Regions from separate parts of the Homo sapiens genome. Here regions 1, 3 and 4 are each linked to region 2. The links are contacts of gene promoters, found by promoter capture Hi-C in human tissues and cell types (Jung and others, 2019). All regions are on one chromosome and are shown on one strand. The core of a region is centred on a gene start or on the middle of the fragment in contact, and the rest is flanking DNA. Distances in the headings are between cores, read along the strand shown. Region 1 overlaps LDLRAD4 (low density lipoprotein receptor class A domain containing 4). Region 2 holds the start of LDLRAD4 (low density lipoprotein receptor class A domain containing 4). Region 3 overlaps LDLRAD4 (low density lipoprotein receptor class A domain containing 4). Region 4 has its middle 48 kb from the start of LDLRAD4.

Region 1 (5,012 bases), core at 1,482-3,981, 58 kb before region 2:
ACAGAACCCAGGCGTGGTTTGCTCTGCCATGCATACTGCTTTGCACCCAACTGTAAAAAGTCCATTTACATTCCAGGGTCTGTGTGCCTCAGCAAGGAAGCACCACAAATCCTCCTGGATTCTCCAGGTGCCTCCTCTGCTGCCAACAGCAACCAGAAAGGAAAAGGCTGGGTTATGCTCCAAGAGCTTCAGGGGGGATTCCTCATCAAGTTGTTTCATTTGCCAAAAGTTTTATCGAGCTCCTGACACTGCAGGCACTGTTCTAGACCCTGAAGAAAAAATAAATGGAAGGAAGGAAGACAAGCGGGAGAGAGGGAGGTCCTTGCCCTCATAAGGCTTACATTCTAGAAAGGGATTTCCCATAAGCAATGAGTCCCACCACCAGGCACATTAAAAATATAGGGAAAAAAATGGACCTTATATTTTATAGAATGTCTTACCTTCCTGAAAATTCTCATGTATTTCTTCACTTCATGTTCTTTGACATCAAGTGAAGCCTGACAATGAGACAGAATAAGCATCACTAAAATCACAGATGAACTGAGAAAACATGGCGTCTCGAGCGGAGCAGGGCATCCTGAGGCCAGAGGCTGAAGCTGGCATGCCAGGTAGGGGGCTCTGGGCATCTCCCAGCTCTGCCACTGACTGTCCCCCACCAGGGCTGGCTCTGAAAACACACAGGTGTCACCCAAGCTTCTACTGTGAATAGATACCCAAGCCCCAGCCATTAACATCCAGCCCCAAAGAAGAAACACACAAATGAGGCACACCCTTGTCAAAACAAACGCAGCCAGACAGGTCCACCACTGCAGAGCAGCTCCTGCCGCGACAAGCTCTGCTTCCCAGACATCATCACAAAGAACAGTCACAAGTAATTCCACTTACCTTTTACACTATACAGAAACTGATGGGAGTTCTCGGAAATGGCCCAACAGGAGGTTTGATGTCACGAACGTAGAGCTTGAACCGCTAGAAAGAAAGATGAAGAACTTCTGTGAGCCATGTTTCTTTTTGTGTGTCCCCCTCTCAAGTTTCAAAAACAGTTAAATATTTGAGGGCTGTCACGAGAAGAGGCATAAATATCAAAATGAATACAATAAAAATGCAATAATAGGCATCAAGTAATAAAGGGAAGGAAGAGAGAAGAATTACAGCACAGAATTACCAAACTGGGACAAAATCCCCCTCTGCCTCCACTCAGTCACAGGGGCACCGAGTCCTCATCTGTTAAAGGACACACGCTTGTTCCTGCAGAGGCACGGGCCTCCTCTTTGATGAGAGGCCAAATAACAGATAGTATCCCTGTTGGACTGGTCTTCTTAAAATTCATACACACTCTAAAAGCTGTGAAAAGACCATCTTCTTTCACGACAATCCAGTCTCAAGACAACATGGGCCCACCTAAGACGGGCAGGCCCCAGTGATTCCTCTGCTGAAATACATGTCTGATTTCATGGAAGAGGCAAGCCCTCTAGCAGTGACACTGCTGGGATGGTAACGTTCGTGACTCTGCCTGCAAGGCTGCCTTTACCTGCCCACCATCCTGTTAGGAGAGTGTCCTCCCAGCTGGTGCTTCAGATTTTGTCCATTCCATACAACCTGTCACTGGCATCCCCATCCCAACTGAGTGAGCATGCTCTGTGGGCATCGCACCGTCCCAGGTGGAGCGCCGGGTATCCTCGGGTGACCGCCTCGAGCTCCAAAGCAGTTTCAGGTGAACTCAGCAAAGCTCGGCCTCAGACACCACAAGCGCCTCTCAGCACCCCGCCCTCCAGTGTGCAGGACACACTCTTGTCCAAGGGGGACTAAGCCACCATCTGTCTGGCTTGTGTGCTGCAGTTCATTCTCCAGGAGGCTCGTACCCCAAAGCGTGCTCCTGCCATATGCCACTCCTGAGTGATCAGCCCATGTAAAGACAGCCGGATAAAACACGGCTGCACCTAGCTAGAGGAGCCTGGGAGATTCCTGCGGAGCTCTACCCCAGCCAAACACCTCCTTCCCATCAGTGTTGGGAGCCTACAGACATTCCTTTCTCCTCCTGTTTCCTGCCTGCTGAGAGATGAAAACAACCCACTGCTGATTTTCCAGATCTTAGTTTTTATTCCTCCACTGGGGCTGCTCTCACCAGTCTTCCTAGGACGCAAACGCTCAGATTTCTTGGGAACGGAAGTCCATGAAATAACCAGAAAGGTACTGTGGTGGGCAGAATTCTAAGGTGACTCCCCAAATTGCTTACACCCTGTACAACTCCCTCCCCTTGAGTGTAGGTGGAAGCTGTGATTGGCTTCTACCCAACCGAATACCACAAAGAATGCTTCTCCCCACACCAGGCGACCTACATAGGAGTCCGCAACGAGGGAGTGACAGACTCCCTTGCTGGCTTGGAGAAGCGAGCTGCCACCTCATGATGGGGCCTGTGAGGGGCCACTTGGCAAAGCACTACAAGGGCTCCCCAGGACCTGAGAGCAGCCCCTAGCTGACAAGCAGCAAGGGAACAGGGACATCAGTCCTGCAGTTACAAGTCAATGAATTCTGCCAGCAACATGAATGAGCCTGGAGGTGGATTCTTCCATACTCAAACCTGCAGATGGGAACACAGCCTGGCCAACACCTTGACTACAGCCTGACCAGAGAACCAACTAAGCCATGCCTGACTGTGGAGCCTTGGAAACTGTGAGATAACAAATGAGTACTGTTTTCAGCTCCTAAGTTTATAATAATTTGTTACACAGCAACAGAAAACTGATAAATGTAACTTAGTAATTAGGCCAGGTACGGTGGCTCATGTCTGTAATTCCTGTACTTTGTGAGGCCGAGGCGGGTGGATCAGGATGCCAGGAATTCAAGACCAGCCTGGCCAACACAGTGAAACCCCATCTTTACCAAGAAATACAAAAATTAGCTGAGCGTGGTGGTGCACACCTGTAGTTCCAGCTACTCGGGAGGCTGAGGCATGAGAACCACTTGAACCCAAGAGGCTGAGGTTGCAGTGAGCCAAGATCGACCCACTGCACTCCAGCATGGGCGACAGAATAAGACCCTATCTCAAAATAAATAAATAAATAAAATAACTTAGTAATTAAATATGGGTTACATAATATAAAGCATATATGCATATACTAAACGCATACACATCTGTACATTAGAGCAGGCCTCTGCCCTGCCTCATCTACCAAAAGTGGAAATTCATTCTCCTACTCAACTTTTAGCTCCTTGTGGGCAAAAACCACATCCCCGTCATCCTGGCATCCCTAACACTTTGCAGAGTATGTGGCACATGGGAGGCCTTTAACATTTTTTTTATTCTTAATTTTTGTGTGCACATAGTAGGTATATGTATTTACAGGGTACATGAGATGTTTTGATACAGGCATATAATATGAAATAAGTAAATCATGCAGAATGGGGTATCCATCCTGTTAAGCATTTATCCTTTGAGTTACAAACAATCAATTACACTCTTCAATTTTAAAATATATAATTAAGTTATTATTGACTACAGTCAGCTTGTTGTGCTATTAACATTTTTTTAAGTGAGCCAAAGTAATAGAACTATGATTTGCCAATGTCTAGTCACAAAAAGGCCACAGCAACCGAACTTATTCAAGCCTTCAGAGTAGAGCCCATAGCTCTGAATTTCAAAATAGGTTGAAGATATTTGGCTTCATGTTCTACCCCAAAAGAATGAACACACAACTTCTCCAGCACTGATTTCATTTTACCAGTGAACCTGAGTCAGTGCTTAAAATGTCACTCAGTAGTTATTACTTTTGTCAAATATCCTTGCCACTTCTCTGGCATCTACTTATCTACAGTTCAAGGTTAAAAACAAAAAAGCTCCCTAAGAGAATTTCCAAAGTAAGAATTTGTGACTCATTTTTAATTTTCCATTAGTATCAATAAATCTTTCCTTCCCAACTAAAGTGACAAAACCTGTATGGGTCAAAAGACCAGGCTCTAATTCTAAAACAAAATGCCAATCCAATTTCCTGGCAACCTGTTTCAAAATTTCTTCTGGATTTTTTTTTTTTTTTGAAACAGGGTCTTGCTATGGTATCCAGACTACAGTGCAGAGGCTGCTCACAGGCACAATCATAGCTCACTGCAGCCTCAAACTCCTGGACTCAAATGATCCTCCTGCCTCAGCCTCCCCAGTAGCTAGGACTACATGTGCACACCACCATGCCCAGCTCTTTAAGATACTCCATTTTTAAACTGATGATTTTTAACTATTTTAATCAAGACTTTAAGCTCTGTTGAAAATAATAATTCAACACATACACAGTTCCTGCTACCCAACATTGTGTCTATTTTACATTCCAAAGGGACTACTTTTAATAACAGTGATATTTGAAAATATTTAAATCAATACAATTACTTAAAAGAGTACAAAAGAAAAACTTTATTCATTACAGAAACCTGTCACACTCCCCTGAAATCTACATTCAGGACTGTATGATATATTCCCACTTCTTCATCAATCACTCAGCAAACGTGATCATCGTCTCCACGCTTTCTCCCTCATGCTTAGCCTCGCAGGCAGCAGGATTCTCACACCCAAGCCAAGAAAAACTAAAAACAGCAGTTCCATGACACGAGGCAGAGAACTGCAACAAATTCACCTCTTCCTTTCAGCATAACTTTAACTCTCTAGCTGTGAAAATAGACACTGACCTGCTGCTTAGCATCCCCTGTGTAGGGGCCAGCAGGGAACTGGAGGGGTCACTGGCCGACCCCTCCCCAGGTCCAGCCAAGAGATCAACGGCTCCAGGTTACAGCACAAAGACAGACCTGATGCCCCATCCAGGCCTCCTCCCTCTGTTTTAGTAAACACAGGCTTTTTCCATAACCTCACCAAACACAACTCAACATCAAGCCCAGGCCTCCAAGAAAGAAGGCTGAGCAGAAACACTAAGCCTCCCGGAAGGAAATCAAGCCTTCAGAAGAAAGGTTCATTCAAGAGGAAGCCACCGAGGAGAGCCAGCAAGCACAGCCGCTCGCTGAGGAGAGAA
Region 2 (5,374 bases), core at 2,875-5,374:
TTTAGGCCCTGGGCAGCTAAGAACAAAGTTGAGGTCTCCTGGGAAGAAGCTAGGTGCCTGATTTCCCTGCTCAGAGGAAGAACGGGAGTGTGGACCAGAGGTGGGGCCAGGGCAGGGGAGGAGGCGGAGCAGCCTAGCAAAATAAAGGACACAGAGTTGCTCCTTGGATTCTACTGCCCTGCAGTAGAGCCAAAAATAAAAGCAAGGCACACCCTTTTCATTTCCGAACCGAGGCACAGAATTCTAGGCGGCAGGCAGAGGCCCTCTGCGCAGCTGCATGCACACCAGGCCCATGAGCGGCGCCCAGCCGGCCGCCGGCTGCAGAGTGCGTTTGCAGTGCAAGCGTGTTGCAGACAGCGGTAATTTATTTATCCCTGTCATGTAACATTAACAATCTGTCTGGAGCTTGGCAAGCACCAACTTGCACTGTCACATAAACTGTCTGACAAACTTAAAGTTTCGTAAATGCTTCTCTTTTTCCAGCAGACAATAAAGCATCCTTAAAAAAAAATAGTTGTCATCTTTTCTGTTCCTTTTCTCTCTTCCTCTTCCAAAAAAAAAAGGAAGAAAAAGAAAAAAAAACCAACAACAAAAGAACCCATGCAAACAGAAATGATCCCTCAGCAGGATCCTTAACCCTGAACAGCTCGACATTTTTCCGATGCCAAGTAAATGAGTAAATAAATGGATGGGGGGAGTGACGTTGTAGGAGACGGTTGAGAAGGGGGTACAGAGGAAAATCTGCAAAACAAAAGTACAGTCATTAAAAATTAATAAAGGGTGTGGACATCCAGACCCCACCCCCGTCTGCTCATGGGGATTGAGCCAGACATTCTGTGTCCTCGTTAAGTGGAGTCTGGCAGGCTGCCGGAGTGTTAGTGGGTTCTGGGAATGCCAATATATTAACCAGAGGACTTTTTGCATACCCTTTAGAGTTTTTATTCTAGAAAAGTCAACCATTTGGCACAGTGCAGCATTATTTTTGTCCGGGAAAGCTCGCAGCTGCCAATCAAGGGAGAAATTATATCTATGTTCTTTGTAATCTCCAAGACCTATCTGGAAAACAAGCTTGGTGGAAAGAAAAGTCTTCACAAAAACAGCTTAAAAGGCCAAAGTACCATTTTTAGTGAGAACTCAAAAGAAAAGCAATCCATTCTTAAATCACATGGATATGTGACAATACAGACATCATTTTCAATTCCTCCTGTGATGGAAAAAAATGACATTAACTGAAAATTCAAACCCAATATTTTCAGCATAATTAATAGTACAGGTACTAGCTTCAGTCCTTTCTCTGCCTAACAATGAAGCAAACAATGCCCCCCAAAAAATGTCCCTAAAAAGTGGCAGGTCTTGTGGCCTAAATTTTCAAATAGTAGACAGAACCTTTGCATTCCTATTTTGAAACTTAAGACTCATCTTCCATGTACACCCGTAATATAGGTCAAGATGTAATTCTAAACTAACACAGTTCATATAGGCAGAAAGTCTCTTTGACATCAGAAAATAATGGCTTCCAGGAGATTTTTTTCTGAGACCTAAAAAAAGGAAGGAACAGAGGGAGAGAGGGAAGGAGACAGAGAGGAAGGAAGAAAGAAAAGAATAATTTTGGACTACATAGCAATTTTGCCGCTATTCATATTTAATATCCATGTGCCGCTATACATTCTGTTAACTATTTCCAAAAATTTTTCCAGGTTAATATGGTGCGCTCTTCTTTTACAATGTTTTATCACTTCTTGAGGGATAACATTTTTCCTTCTCTACTAACTCTTACACAGGAAGAAGGACACATCATAGAGACTGGATAAGCCCAGATTCCAAAGAAAGATGAGAAGAAACATGGCAAGGACTACCAGAAAGATCAGAGCAGTCTACAATTTCAAGAATTCCTGCCCAGGGCCCTGAGGTGGCTTTGGTTTTACGTGATGACGTAGAGCAGTCACCTCCCACCCACCACAAGGAGACTTTATGCTGGCTACATGCAGAGACGTCAGGAGCTCAGGGATCTCTGCTGGACTGCCTGCCAGAAACCATGCACAAGGAGCAAAAGTCACTCTCCTCTGACTGTGCTTCCCTATCAGTCAGGGAGGTTACCCCTGCAGCAGCCCAGAGCAAAAACAGAGAGCGTCCCAGGAGCTATGAGGCTGGTCTGCCAGGCTGCTAAGTCAACCAAGACTACAGCACAGTCCCAAACTGTAAACACCTCTGCAGACGGGCCCTTGCTCTCCGCGTGCCAGGCAAGAAAACTATTCTTAGAACACTGTCAGCAGTTGGGGGAAAATAAATATTTGTCTATGTATGTATATACTCCAGTGGGAGTAGGGTGGGGTGCAGGAGTCTCAAATAATGTGCCAACAAATTGGCACAAAATCCCTTAATAAGCAGCTGGCACTGGCTGCGTTCCACTGCAGGATTGTGGTCTTGCAAACCAAGCCCATGAGAGGATTCAAGAGACAGCCCTAAAAACCTGCCGGGAAGAGTCTTCTCCAATGTAAATACAAACCTACACGAACCAGGACCATGGCCAACAATGGCAAGCCCTTCCAAGGGTAACAGCAGAATGTTAAGAAATTAGAGAGGTCATTTAAAACAAGGGAGGAAGGTAGCTACAATTCCATTACAGCAAATCCCTTACTGGCATTTACATTCCCAGCCCTAATTCCTAACACTGTGTTCAATGTCAATAGCAAAATGAAGCTCTTAAAAAGAATTAAGCTTTCAAAGATCATAAGGAAGTTAGCCCCCTGTTTTAAAAAGCACTGCTTAGAAAGGTCCATCAAATAACATTTCAAGGGTTGATGGGAAACCAAATATAATTCAATAAATATACATGGGTAATACTCAGACATCCTCATTTGTCTATGTAATGACTCAGATTTGACACTCTGATCCTTGACTGAACACAAAGACTATATTCCAGAAGAATTGTGCAGAGTACAAAGGGAGAGTTACAGATGACAACACACTCGAGTTAAAGACTAGAAAAGACAATACCATATACAGAATGCAGACATGACTTGATGCAATGGCAGTCTCCCTGTGCAGACTTTGCAGAACCTTCTCTGTCATTCAATACTCAGTCCTGAAGCTCCAGGGAAGATACAGAGAGGAGGATGCCATTCTTGGCTAGCCAAACCGGCAGAAAGGGCCGTTTTTAAAAGGAAGCTTCCCAGCACTAGCCCTTCGAGAAGGCACCAACCTCCTTACCAGCCATAGGACCCTATTTTTGAGAGTCAATGCTGCTCACCATCTCTATCCACCTCTACTGCAAATAACTTACTAATACTAGCGCTCAGAACCCACATTCTGTGCAGCTACTCTTACCTCACATCCTACAATGCCTAACACATAGTAGGCCCTCAATAAATATGTATTGCAATGGTAATTAACATTTAGAAAGCAGCGCTGGTCCGGGGATGAGAAGATGCCAAAATAATTAGAAAAGAGAAAAAGAGAAGGGAATAGACCAAGACACAGAGGAAAAGAAAAGAAGCAAATCAAAATTATCTAATTCTAGCTAATTAAAAAATTTTGGGGGAAAAACAAAAATCATGCTAGTTCATGCGGCTATGGGCACACAGCAACCATTCCTGTGCCTGGGCAGAGCTAAGGAGTCCTGCTTGCTTTAAAGAGCTTCTAGCTGCCCTGACTGGCGACGAGGTGTCCCTCCAGGTAGGTGACCCAAGAACGCTGTACTCTCGGATGCGCCTTCCCCCAGTGCCGCCCACCCACCATGCGTCCCTGTCGTCCTGAAAACCTCTGCCTCATCGGGAAACCTTCTCCTTTTCCAATTAAAAAAAAAAAAAAAAAAGTTTAAACAAGCAAATGCCCTCTCCGCCACGATAGCGATTTAACCTAAACCGAACCCACTGTCTTCCACCGGTGTACTCACAGGGCGCGCCCCCAGGCCCACCCGGGGCGGCGCACCGGGAAGGGGTCCCGAGGAAGCTTCCTAAAGGCTGTGCAGGGCAGACCCCTTCACAAAGGCAAGTGCCGGGCCGGGCTGGGTGCTTGTCGCTTCCTGTTTATTCCAAGGTGAGGGGCAGAGAGAAATTCAACACACGCCTGCTTCCTCCGGGGCTCGGAGACCCAGCCTAAGTGCAACAGCAGCAGCCCCAGACAATCGACTTCCCAGCCAATGCCGGGAGCTCCGGGCGGTCCCGCGACCGACGTCAACGCGCGCGGGGGGACCCGGGGGGACGCCGGGTGAAGCGGGCCCGAGGGGCCGGGGCCGGGGAGCGCGCGGTGCAGGATGCGGGACTGAGGGGCTGCGGGGCTTGGCCCGCCCCCTCCTTCCCGCAAACTCCCCGGTCAGGTCCTGCAGGATCTTCCCGCTTCCCGCTGACCTCCAGTCCCTGCCCGCCACGGCTCGCCGAGGCCTAGGGGCGCGGAGACAGTTGGGGCTGCCATCCGCGCGCCCATCCTGGCCTCCGGGCGGTGCAGAATTCAGTCTTGCAACCGCGGGACACCCTGCGCCCCAGGGCACCAGGAAACAGAAAACGGGGTGGGGGTCGGCGAAGTCCCTCCACCGGCGTAACCCCGCCCGCGGGCCAGCCCCGGATCCCCGCCGTGCCCACCGGCAAGCCCACCCGGACCAAGCCTCACAGACCTCGCGCGCTCGGCGCCCAGCTTCTCCCTCCGGCCCCAGCCGACGGCGCAGGCTCGCGGACGTCCAGTTCCCAAAGCGTCCGGTTCCCGAGTCCCCCGCCACCCCTCCCTCCGGAGCGCAGCGGTGAACTTGGGCCAGAAGCCCCGACCACTGCGGCCACCTCGGGTCCGCACTCACCTGGGCCGCCCCCCCGGAGCGGAGGCGGGGACTGCCCGCAGTGCGGCTCCGCGGCCACCGGCCCTGCTGGCCAGGGGGAGGGGCGCTGTGCGGGGCGCGGCAGGGGGCGCGCGGCGGGCCGGCGGGGAGCGCGGCGCGCCGGGGTTCTTTAAGAGCTGAGGACCTCACCCCCGGGCCTCCCCCGCGCTCCCCGCCCTGCTTCCACTTTCCCAGGCACCCGCAGCCTGTCTGGCTGCAGCGGCGGCAGCGGCTCAGTGGCTTGCAGGGGATCCCCGGCCGGCCGCGGCGGCGCGCGGAGCGGGCAGGGCCAACGCACTCGCCTGCTAATCCCGCCGGGCCCGGTCCGCAGCCTCAGCGCGGGGAGAGAGGGGACGCGGCGCTGCGGCCGCCGGGGAGGTGTCCCGCCTCCAGTCGCCGGAGGGGGGAGTGTCCCGCCTCCCGCCGCCGTCGCCGCCGTCTGTCTCCAGCCGTGACTGCGCGCCGCGGCTGTGTCTGTCTCCAACTCCTCCAGTCTCTCCTCCTCCTTCCCACTCCGCGGTGGGGACCCGGCGCGCGGCCAGGCCGCGGGTACCGGGGCCGCCGTGG
Region 3 (5,295 bases), core at 42-2,541, 37 kb before region 2:
GCTTTTGACGCCTTCCTTAGGAAAGAGAGGCTCTCTCTTCCATGCCAGCACACACACCAGCTTACCAGGGCTCTCGTTTTCAAAGGGCTCTCTATGGAAACATCCATGGGGTGCCAGATTGCTGGATGCTAGTGGGGTCGATCTGTAACCTGACCCAAGTACTCAGCACTGTTCACACCAGTCCTACACACCTGCTGGCATTCCTGGGATTTAAACCCAGCTGCCCTAATACAATACTGATCTCGAAGCAAGAAGTCCTCAGAATGTTTTAAAACTGTCCTAACTCAGTATTTCCCAAACTTTAAGGTGCACAAGAATCCCCTTGGATCTTGTTAAAAGGCAGATTTTGATGGGGGGATGGGGTCCAAGGCTGAGGCTGAGACCACATTCCTAACCTGTGCCCATGCAGCTGATCTGTGACCCCAGGAGGGTGACTCAGAGACAGAGCCAAGAAAGGGACCCTATTTTAAAAGAAGAGCCATTTCTACTCCCAACATGGAGAGGACTCACCTCAAATGGCAGGAGGATGCTTTTAGATTCACCCAAGCCTCCCCCTACATCCAGGGCAGTTTGTGATCTGAGTCCTGCCAACATATATAATCACTGTCTCATTTTCCCTAGAATAATCAGGCAGCAAAACCTTGTGCACACACAGCACCTGTTCTCCCAGGGAATCAAAGTGCTTTACATCACGTCTTTCTTGGAAAGAAACTTAGTTTGATTTCTGGACAACAATTAACACATAATATCCTAAATAAGTGATACATCATTTTCTAAGAGGGTAGCAAGCACGAAAGTTAGGCAGAAACAAGATCATGATGAACAAGAGTGATAAAAGTCAGGCCAAAATAACACCAATGCTGATGACAAATTGTCTCCTCACAATAAAAGCAATGATCAAAGCCATCCCTTCCCCAGCCATCCTCATCCTGATAAAATGGAATTCCAGTGCTCAGCAGAAATTCAGACGCACCACATCTCCCTCGGCCAGCTCTCCACCTCAGTGCATCCTCTGGTTCCTCCTCCACTCCAAGCACCCCACAGCCCTGGCCTGGGGAGCCGTCCCTAGGGCCTCAACGCTGCAACAGCCCCTATGGCACCCTGCCTCTCCCTTGGGCCTCCACCGTGATCTATTCCCCAGAGACCCTGACCCTCTGGAAACCTACACCCAGACACTGCTCTGCTCCAAACCTGGAAGGGCTCCCATCCCACCTGGACCCTGGGCCCTATGGGAAATCACACATACCCACACATATGTTCACACATGCCTGTATGTGCACATGCATGCACATGTGCCCTCTGCACCCCCTGCTCCTCTCCAGCCATGTGGCCTTGACCACTCCAGGCAACCGCTCACCCACAGCCTTTGCACAGAGTTGCCTCAGCCTAGAATCTTCCCCAGTACCCATATGGTCACTCCCTGCTCTAATGCTACCTTCTCGGACCCCAGTACATCAAACCCCACTCTTTGTTGAGAGTGGAGCCTTTCCATTGTCTGCCTCTGCCTCTCCCAGCACAGACCCTAGGCCAGGAGGAGCTCCCACTGTGTATCCAACAGCACCTGCTGGGTGTGGAGCATCCCGGGGCTGGGGGGGGCGGGCATCTGTCTGCAGCCCCTGTGCCCAGCACACAGCAGGGCTCTGGAAGTATCTGCTGAACCCAGACACCCTGGCTGTGTCTCTGCCCCTTAGTCTCGAGCCCTCACGGGTTCAATCATTTGTTCATATTTCATATTTTCTACTATCATTTCATCTGATGATTACTGTTTTAGTCTTGCTGCCCTATTAAACAAGAAGAATTGGGTTTTTCTTTTATTTAACTTTTTTTGAGACAGGGTCCCGTTCTGTTGCCCAGGCTGGGGTGTAGTGGAACCATCTCAGCTCACTGCCACCTCTGCCTCCTGGGCTCAAGCGATTCTCATGCCTCACGCTCCTAAGTTGCTGGGACCACAGGCAAGTGCCACTACGCCCAGCTAATTTTGGGGGCTTTTGTAAAGACAACAGTTTCCCTACGTTTCCCAGTCTAGTCTCAAACTCTTGGGCTCAAATGATCCTCCTGCCTCAGCCTCCCAAAGCTCTGGGATGACAGGTGTGGGCCACCACGCCCAGTATGTTCTTTTACATGTTTAATTTGTTGAACACAGGTGGACATTTTTGTTTCTTGAGGCTCACTGTAGGTCAGAGTAAGGACTCGGCCAATTCCGTAACCACCATGAATGGAAAGATGCCGCTGGACTTCCTGGCAGAAGCATGGAGGGTCGCTGGCACTCTAGGTCCAGCTATGCCCATGGTCAGCTGAGCGACCTTGAAGAGGCGGGATTCTCTCTGTCCGCGCCAGCCCTGCTCAGCTGGGCCAGGGAAACTCCTCCAACCCCCAAACTGCCCAGTCTCCAGACCGTGGCCCAGTGCAAACAGACCCTGTCACTGCTGCTGAAAACACTCCAATGGCTCCCCAAGGCCTATAAGATCCCACTCAGCCTCAGAAAAGAAAACCCTGAGTCCACCTGGGGCCCCTCACTCCTCACCCCATCAGCTCTGGACCCGAAAAGCTCCCTGCCTCCCCTGGGCCTCGGGCTGTGCCCTCCACCCAGACAGGCTCTTCTGCCTTCACGGCGCGACACCGCCCGTCCGTGTTCAGCCCTCAGCTCCATCACCTGCCTCCAGAAATCCCTGGGCTTCCCCTCAGTGGAATCTCGCCGGGGCTTATGCTTCTCTGCCAGCACTCTCCTCCCCTCCAGCACTATCTCCCAGCAGCAGGTCTGCATTGACTCATCTGAGTCCTGGATTCCTGGGATGCCCCGTATCGCAGCAAGCCCCCAAGCACAGGGCCTTCTGCGGCCTCGGCTCTAGGGCTGGGCACACACTGGGCACTCAGTGAGTACCAGCCTGGAGGGCAGGTGAGCAGGCGAGGGAGGCGCCACCATCCTGCCATGAGATTTGTTATCAAAAACTCACCCGGCAGCTTCCTGTTCAGTGACATCTGAGGGCCAAAGGGTGAATACAACCTGTGCCAGAGATGCTCCGATACCCAGAACCTAAGCTTAATTCTAATGAAAAGAAATAAAACATGGCAGGTTCTGATCATTGTGCCTTTAAGAGAATATCAAAAAAAATTATTCCGAATTCCACTCTCTTTTCTTTGAATGCATTCCTTCCTCCCCCCACTTCATTTGCAGAACTCGAAGGGTAACACATACTGTACCTCCCACTAGAAATCAACCCCATTAGCACCATGTGTCATAATCAATCCGAAAAGGGGCCCTGCCCACAAGTACTAAATCAGCCTGAGAGCTCTTGGCCATCCTAACACTGCTCATTTACCCTGCAGGCTTTGGAGTTCCTTCAAGCGGAGGTGTGGAAAAGGGAAAAAGACTTTTAAAATATTACTCTTCCTAGATGTATATCATGCTTCTTAAAAAAGAGTGAGCAACACCCTTCAGTCAACAGCCTGAGCACATTCATGCTGAGAGCAGTGGCGCCCAGCTTCCCCACCACAGCCGATCACAGCAAGGCTCCGGGCGAGGGTCCTGGTCTCCAGCCTCACACCCCCCACCCCACGTCTGACACTCCTCCTCACCTCCCACCTTCTCCTGTCACCTTCTCGGGTCCTGACAGCACACCCAGGCTGAAAATGCCCACCACCACCACCACCAGGCTCCTCGGAGACTGGGGCCCAGGCAATGTGATCACACATTTGTATCTGCAGAATATCACTGGCACTTGGGAGCAGGAGCAGTTACAGGGTGCCCAGAGTGAAGCAGGCCTGCACCCTGGACCCCCAGTGCCCCGGTTTCCATGCAAGCACTCACCTGTCTCATGCCATCTGCTCACAGAAGCCTCGTGGTACAGCTAGTGGTCTGGAAAACCAGCAAAACAACAAGACACAAAGAGAAGCAAAGCCTAACGAGACTACAAGGACACTATTCTAGGAACAGCGCAACACTGCTCCGCAGAAGGGCTCAGAGCCAGACATCCCTGCGCAGAAACAGCTGTGGATGTGGAGGGCCGACGGCAAGTGAGGCTGGTTCTGCATGTCACATGAAATGAGGCCTTGACCTCACAGAAGCAAAGAGCATCTTCATTCCTCTCACTGGCAGGAACCCTTGTCATCCATCACATCTGCGGCAGTCCCACCGTGCCCAGTATGGTGGGGGGCACCACCGAGTTCCCAGGGTGCAGCTGCAGCACCAACCTCGTCATCAGTCTGTAATTGTAATAACATTAAGCAATTGGAAGTTCATCATTTGTGCATCAAAGGCTGCCTGAGGTCAGTCATCTGGTCAGACATGGGGCTGTGGCCCACCCTGGGTCCCCGCACCTAGCGGTACACCTGGCCAAGTGTGCACAGTGAATAACTGTGGAAGGCCGGGCACAGTTGCTCACGCCTGTAATCCCAGCACTTTGGGAGGACGAGGTGGGTGGATCACCTGAGCTCAGGAGTTCGAGACCAGCCTGACCAACATGATGAAACCCCATCTCTACTAAAAATACAAAAATTAGCTGGGTGTGGTGATGGGCGCCTGTAATCCCAGCTACTCCATCCAGAGGCTGAGGCAGGAGAATTGCTTGAACCCAGGAGGTGGAGGTTGCAGTGAGCCGAGATTGCACCATTGCACTCCAGCCTGGGCAACAAGAGCAAAACTCCATCTCAAAAAAACAAACAAACAAACAAAAACCAATGAAGCTGGCAAGAGATATATTCTAATACAAGGAGACATTCCAATGCAGACTGTTTCTCCTGGGAGGACCCAAGTCCCCTCCAAACAATCATATATCTACAGAACCATATAAATGACATTCTTTTCAGTTTGCTTCTTTTAGTCATGAGGGTTGAGTTTCCATATCCATGACTAACTTGTTTTGAAGACCAAGGAGAAAAGCACCATAGCCTCCTCAATAATGGGCCACAAGTCAGGAACTCTGCATTTGGGATAAACAATTTTTCTTCAAGAATATCATCTCCTTAAAATGCAAACAGAGGCTTCATTGAAGCTGTAGATTTCTTTGGGCAGTATGGTCATCTGAACCATACAGTACTTCTTCCAAGTACTTTCCATTTGTTTGTCAGTCCTCTTCAATTTCTTTTCATCGATGCTTTGTAGTTTTCCTTGTAGAGGTCTTTGGCCTCCTTGGTAAAGTTTATCCCTAGGTATTTTAAATTTTTTGTAGCTACTGCAAATGGAATTGTCATCTTGATTTCTTTTTCACCTAGTTGTTTGTCTATAGAAACAATATTGATTTTTGTATGGTGATTTTGTATCCTGCAACTTTACTGAATTCATTTACCAGTTCTAAG
Region 4 (5,121 bases), core at 1,520-4,019, 48 kb after region 2:
AAAGCCTTTACCTCTCCTCGTGTCTGAAATCTTTTCTTATATCAACAATGTATTAATAAATTAGATTACAAAGTTTCTTACAATAAAGGAACTTTGTCCTGAATGGCTGATAAGTGCTTATATGAATTTAATATCCTCAAAATCCCCAGAAAATATAGAAACTGAACTTCTAATATTTTATTTTTTATTTTTATTTTTTTTTAGACATGGGATCTTGCTATGTTGCCCAGTCTGGTCTTGAGCTCCTGGCCTCAAGTGATGCTCCCACCTCAGTCTCCTAAAGAGCTGGGATTACAGGTATGAGCCACCATACCTGGCCTTCTAATATTTTAAATGTGTTAGCTTTCCAAGAAAAAATATTTCTCCTCAAAATTACTATCCCTCATAGCATTTTTTTCTATAAGAAACTAAGTTCATATAATCAAAGTGATGAAACAAATCAGACCAGTTTGATAAATTTGATTTAAAGACAGCAAATACGCCTTTTCCTTCATTTTTTTCTATGCTGCATATAATGCAGGCATACATTTTATTTTTGATAAGATGTAAATTTGTTTGTGTTTTTAGGTTTAAATTCCCCAGTTCTTTTCTCTGTCTTTTTTTGTTTTATTTTCAAAGCTATACACAATTTCACACATACCATTATGATCTAGATATATTTACCAAGACATTTAAACATGTATATTTCCGGTTTTCAAATCCCTATTAGCAGCCAGGCACTGTGGCTCGTGCCTATAATCCCAGCACTTTGGGAGGTTGAGGCTGGTGGATTGCTTGAGGTCAGGAGTTCGAGACCAGCCTGGCCAACGTGGTGAAACCCCATCTCTACAAAAAAATATGAAAATTAGCTGGGCGTGGTGGTGTATACCTGCAATCCCAGCTACTCGGGAGTCTGAGGCAGGAGAATTGCTATAACCCAGGAGGCGGAGGTTGCAGTGAGCTGAGATTGCACCACCGCACTCCAGCCTAAGCAACGAGAGAAACCCTGTCTCAAAATAAATAAATAAATAAATAAATCCCATTAGCTTCCTAAATAAAATATCCAAGTATCATTATTAGTAATATTTATTTGTTTTATAAATTTATTTGTATTTTTATTTTGTATTTCCCTAGGTTTTTGGGAAACAGGTGGTTTTGGTTACATGAGTAAGTTCTTTAGTGGTGATTTCTGAGATTTGGTGCACCATCACCCAAGCAGTGTACATGGCACCCGATTTATAGTCTTTTATCCCTCACCCCCTCCCCCCCATCCCGATTCTCCCGTGTCCATTGTATCCTTCTAATGCCTTTGTTTCCTCATAGCTTAGTTCCCACCTATAAGAACATACGGTGTTGGGTTTTTCCATTCCTGAGTTACTTCACTTAGAATAATGCTCTCCAGTTCCATCCAGGTTGCTGCAGATGCCATTATTTCATTAATTTTTATGGCTAAGTAGTATTCCGTGGTGTATATATAACACAATGTCTTTATCCACTCGTTGATTGATGGGCATCTGGGCTGGTACCATATTTTTGCAATTGCAAATTGTGCTGCTATAAACATGTGTGTGCAAGTATCTTTTTCTTATAATGACTTCCGTTCCTCTGGGTAGATACCCAGTAGTGGGATTGCTGGATCAGATGGTTTCAGTTCTTTAAGGAATCTCCACACTGTTTTCCACAGTGGCTGTACTAGTCTACATTCCCACCAACCATGTAAAAGTGTTCCCTTTTCACCGCATCCCCACCAACATCTTTTTTTTTATTATTTCTTTTGTATTATGGCCATTCTTGCAGGAGTAAGGCAGTATCGCATTCTGGTTGTGTTCTTTTTGTTTGTTTGTTTGAGACAGAGTCTCAATCCGACACCCTGGCTGGAGTGCCGTGGCACGATCTCAGCTCACTGCAGCCTCCACTTCCCAGGTTTAAGCATTTTTCGTGCCTCAGCCTCCCGAGTAGCTGGCATTACAGGCGCCCACCACCATGCCCAGCTAATTTTTGTATTTTTAGTGAAGACAGGGTTTCACGACGTTGGCCAGGCTGGTTTTGAACTACTGACCTCAAGTGATCCTCCCGCCTTGGCCCCCCAAAGTAGCATTGTAGTTTTGATTTGCATTTCCCTGATAATTAGTGATGCTGAGCATGTTTTCATATGTTTGTTGGCCATTTGTGTATCTTCTTTTGAGAATTGTCTATTCATGTCCTTAGCTCACTTTTTGATGGGACTGTTGATACTTTTCTTGCTAACTTGTTTGAGCTCCTTGTAGATTCTGGATATTAGTCCTTTGTCAGATGCATAGATTGTGAAGATTTTCTCCCACTCTGTGGGTTGTCTGTTTACTCTGCTGATTGTTTCTTTTGCTATGCAGAAGCTTTTTAGTTTAATTAAGTCCCATCTATTTGTCTTTGTTTTTGTTGCATTTGCTTTTGGGTTCTTGGTCATGAAGTCTTTGCCTAAGCTAATGTCTAGAAGGGTTTTTCCAAGGTTATCATCTATAATTTTTATGGTTTCAGGTCTTAGATTTAAATCTTGATCCATCTTGAGTTGATTTTTGTATAATGCAAAAGGTGAGGATCCAGGTTCATTCTTCCACATGTGGCTTGCCAATTATCCTAGCACGATTTGTTAAATAGGGTGTTCTTTCCCCACTCCATGTTTTTGTTTTCTTTGTCAAAGATCAGTTGGCTGCAGGTATTTGGGTTTATTTCTGGGTTCTCTATTCTGTTCCATTGGTCTATTTGCCTATTTTTATACCAGTACCATGCTATTTTGGTGACTATGGCCTTGTAGGATAGTTTGAAGCAGATAATGTGATACCTCCAGATTTGTTCTTTTTGCTTAGTCTTGCTTTGGCTATGCAAGCTCTTTTTTGGTTCCATATGAATTTTAGGATTGCTTTTTCTAGTTCTGTGAAGAATGATGGTAGTATTTTGATGGAAACTGCATTGAATTTGTAGATTGCTTTTGGCAGTATGATCATTTTCACAATATTGGTTCCACCCATCTATGAGCATGGGATGTGTTTCCATTTGTTTGTGTCATCTATGATTTCTTTCAGCAGTGTTTTGTAGTTTTCCTTCTAGAAGTCTTTCACCTCCTTAGTTAGGTATATTCCTAAGTATTTTATTTTTTATTTTTATTTTTTGCAGCTATTGTAAAAGGGATTGAATTGTTGATTTAATGCTCAGCTTGGTTGCTGTTGGTGTATAGCAGAGCTACTGACTTGGGTGCATTAATTTTGTATTCTGAAACTTTGCTGAATTCCATCAGTTCTAGGAGCTTTTGGGGGGAGTCTTTAGGGTTTTCTAGGTATATGATCATATCATCAGCAAACAGTGACAGTTTGACTTCTTCTTTACCAATTTGGATGCCTTTATTTCTTTCTCTTGTCTGACTGCTCTGGCTAGGACTTCCAGCACTATGTTGAATAGAAGTAGTGAGGGTGGGCATCCTTGTCTTGTTCTATTCTCGGGGGAGATGCTTTCAACTTTTCCCCATTTAGTATTATGTTGGCTGTGGGTTTGTCATTGATGGCTTTTATTACATTCAGGTATGTCTCTTCTATGCCTATTTTGCTGAGGGATTTAATCATAAAGGGATGCTGGGTTTTGTCCAGTGCTTTTTCTGCATCTATTGAGATGCTCATGTGATTTTTGTTTTTATTCTGTTTATGTGGTGTATCACATTTATTTACTTGCATGTGTTAAACCTAAACCATCCCTGCATCCCTGGTGTGAACCCACTTGATCATAGTGGAGTATCTTTTTTACATGCTGTTGGATTCAGTTAGCTAGTATTTTGTTAAGGATTTTTGCATCTATATTCATCAGGGATATTGGCCTGTAGTTTTATTTTTTTGTTATGTCCTTTCCTGGTGTTGGCATTAGGGTATTACTGGCTTCATAGAATGATGTAGGGAGGATTCCCTCTTTCTTTGTATTTTGGAATAGTGTCAATAGGATTGGTATCAATTTTTCTTTGAATGTCTGATAGAATTCAGTTGTGAATCCGTCTGATCCAGGGCTTTTCTTTGTTGTTGACAATTTTTTCATTACCATTTCAATCTAGCTGCTTGTTCTTGGTTTGTTCAGAGTTCCTATTTCTTCCTGGTTTAATCTAGGAGGGATGTATATTTCCAGAAATGTATCTATGTCCTCTAGGTTTTCTAGTTTATGCACATAAAGGTGTTCATAGTAGCCTTGAATAATCTTTTGCATTTCTGTGGTATTGGTTGTAATATCTCCCATTTAGTTTCTAATTGAGCTTATTTGGATCTTTTCTTTTCTTGGTTAATCTCACTAATTTAGTCTATCAATTTTATTTTCCAAAGAACTTTTCAGCTTTTTGTTTCATTTATCTTTTGTGTTGTTTTTGTGTTTCAATTTCATGTAGTTCTGCTCTGATCTGTGTTATTCCTTTTCTTGTGCTGGGTTTGGGTTTGGTTTGTTCTTGTTTCTCTACTTCCTTGAGGTGTGACCTTCGATTGTCTGTGCTCTTTCAGACTTTCTGATGTTGGCATTTTTTAAGGCTATGAACTTTCCTCTTATTCTGCCTTTGCCATATCCCAGAGGTTTTTTTGTTTGGTTGGTGTTTTTGTTTGTTTGTTTGTTTGTTTGTTTGAGACAGAGTCTGCTCTGTCGCCCAGGCTGGAGATCAGTGGTGAGATCTCGACTCACTGCAACCTCTGCCTCCCAGGTTCAAGCAATTATCTGCCTCAGCCTCCCCAGTAACTGGGATTACAGGTGCCCACCACCATGCCCAGCTAATTTTTTTGTATTTTTAGTAGAGACAGGGTTTCACCATTTTGGCCAGGCTGGTCTTAAACTACTGACCTCGTGATCCACCTGCCTCGGCCTCCCTAAGTGCTGGGATTACAGGCGTGAGTCCCAGAGGTTTTGATAGGTGGTGTCACTATTATCGTTCAGTTCAAATAATTTTTTAATTTCCATCTTGATTTTATTGTTGACCCAGTGATCATTCGGGAGCAGGTTATTTAATTTCCATGTATTTGCATGGTTCTGAGGATTCATTTTGGAATTGACTTCCAATTTTATTCCACTGTGGTCTAAGAGAGTACTTGATATGATTTCAATTTTCTTAAATTTATTGAGACTTGTTTTGTGGCTTATCATGGTCTATCT

The links. Contacts are between HindIII fragments. The study calls those that stand out against the background at their distance.
Region 1: a fragment that was not itself captured here is called in contact with the fragment with the promoter of LDLRAD4 in region 2 in 2 of the 25 tissues and cell types used here (aorta and dorsolateral prefrontal cortex).
Region 3: a contact is called between a fragment that was not itself captured here and the fragment with the promoter of LDLRAD4 in region 2, in 6 of the 25 tissues and cell types used here (H1 embryonic stem cells, adrenal gland, lymphoblastoid cells and 3 more).
Region 4: a fragment that was not itself captured here is called in contact with the fragment with the promoter of LDLRAD4 in region 2 in 1 of the 25 tissues and cell types used here (mesendoderm cells).

What each region holds. Positions count from the first base shown.
Region 1 is chr18:13,274,062-13,279,073 of GRCh38, reverse strand. LDLRAD4 (low density lipoprotein receptor class A domain containing 4) reads right to left here. Exons shown (of 7, transcript NM_001378100.1): 2 at 886-969. Among named protein-coding and RNA genes, the nearest start is that of C18orf15, 37 kb to the right of the region's middle. The HindIII fragment of the contact is 8,231 bases long and covers 1-5,012 here.
Region 2 is chr18:13,217,510-13,222,883 of GRCh38, reverse strand. LDLRAD4 (low density lipoprotein receptor class A domain containing 4) reads right to left here and starts at 4,124. Exons shown (of 7, transcript NM_001378100.1): 1 at 3,896-4,124. RefSeq lists a silencer at 4,964-5,333. The HindIII fragment of the contact is 3,935 bases long and covers 3,561-5,374 here.
Region 3 is chr18:13,251,496-13,256,790 of GRCh38, reverse strand. All of the region lies in intron 1 of LDLRAD4 (low density lipoprotein receptor class A domain containing 4), which reads right to left. Among named protein-coding and RNA genes, the nearest start is that of C18orf15, 15 kb to the right of the region's middle. The HindIII fragment of the contact is 7,509 bases long and covers 1-5,045 here.
Region 4 is chr18:13,168,247-13,173,367 of GRCh38, reverse strand. No RefSeq gene overlaps it. Among named protein-coding and RNA genes, the nearest start is that of LDLRAD4, 48 kb to the left of the region's middle. The HindIII fragment of the contact is 8,052 bases long and covers 1-5,121 here.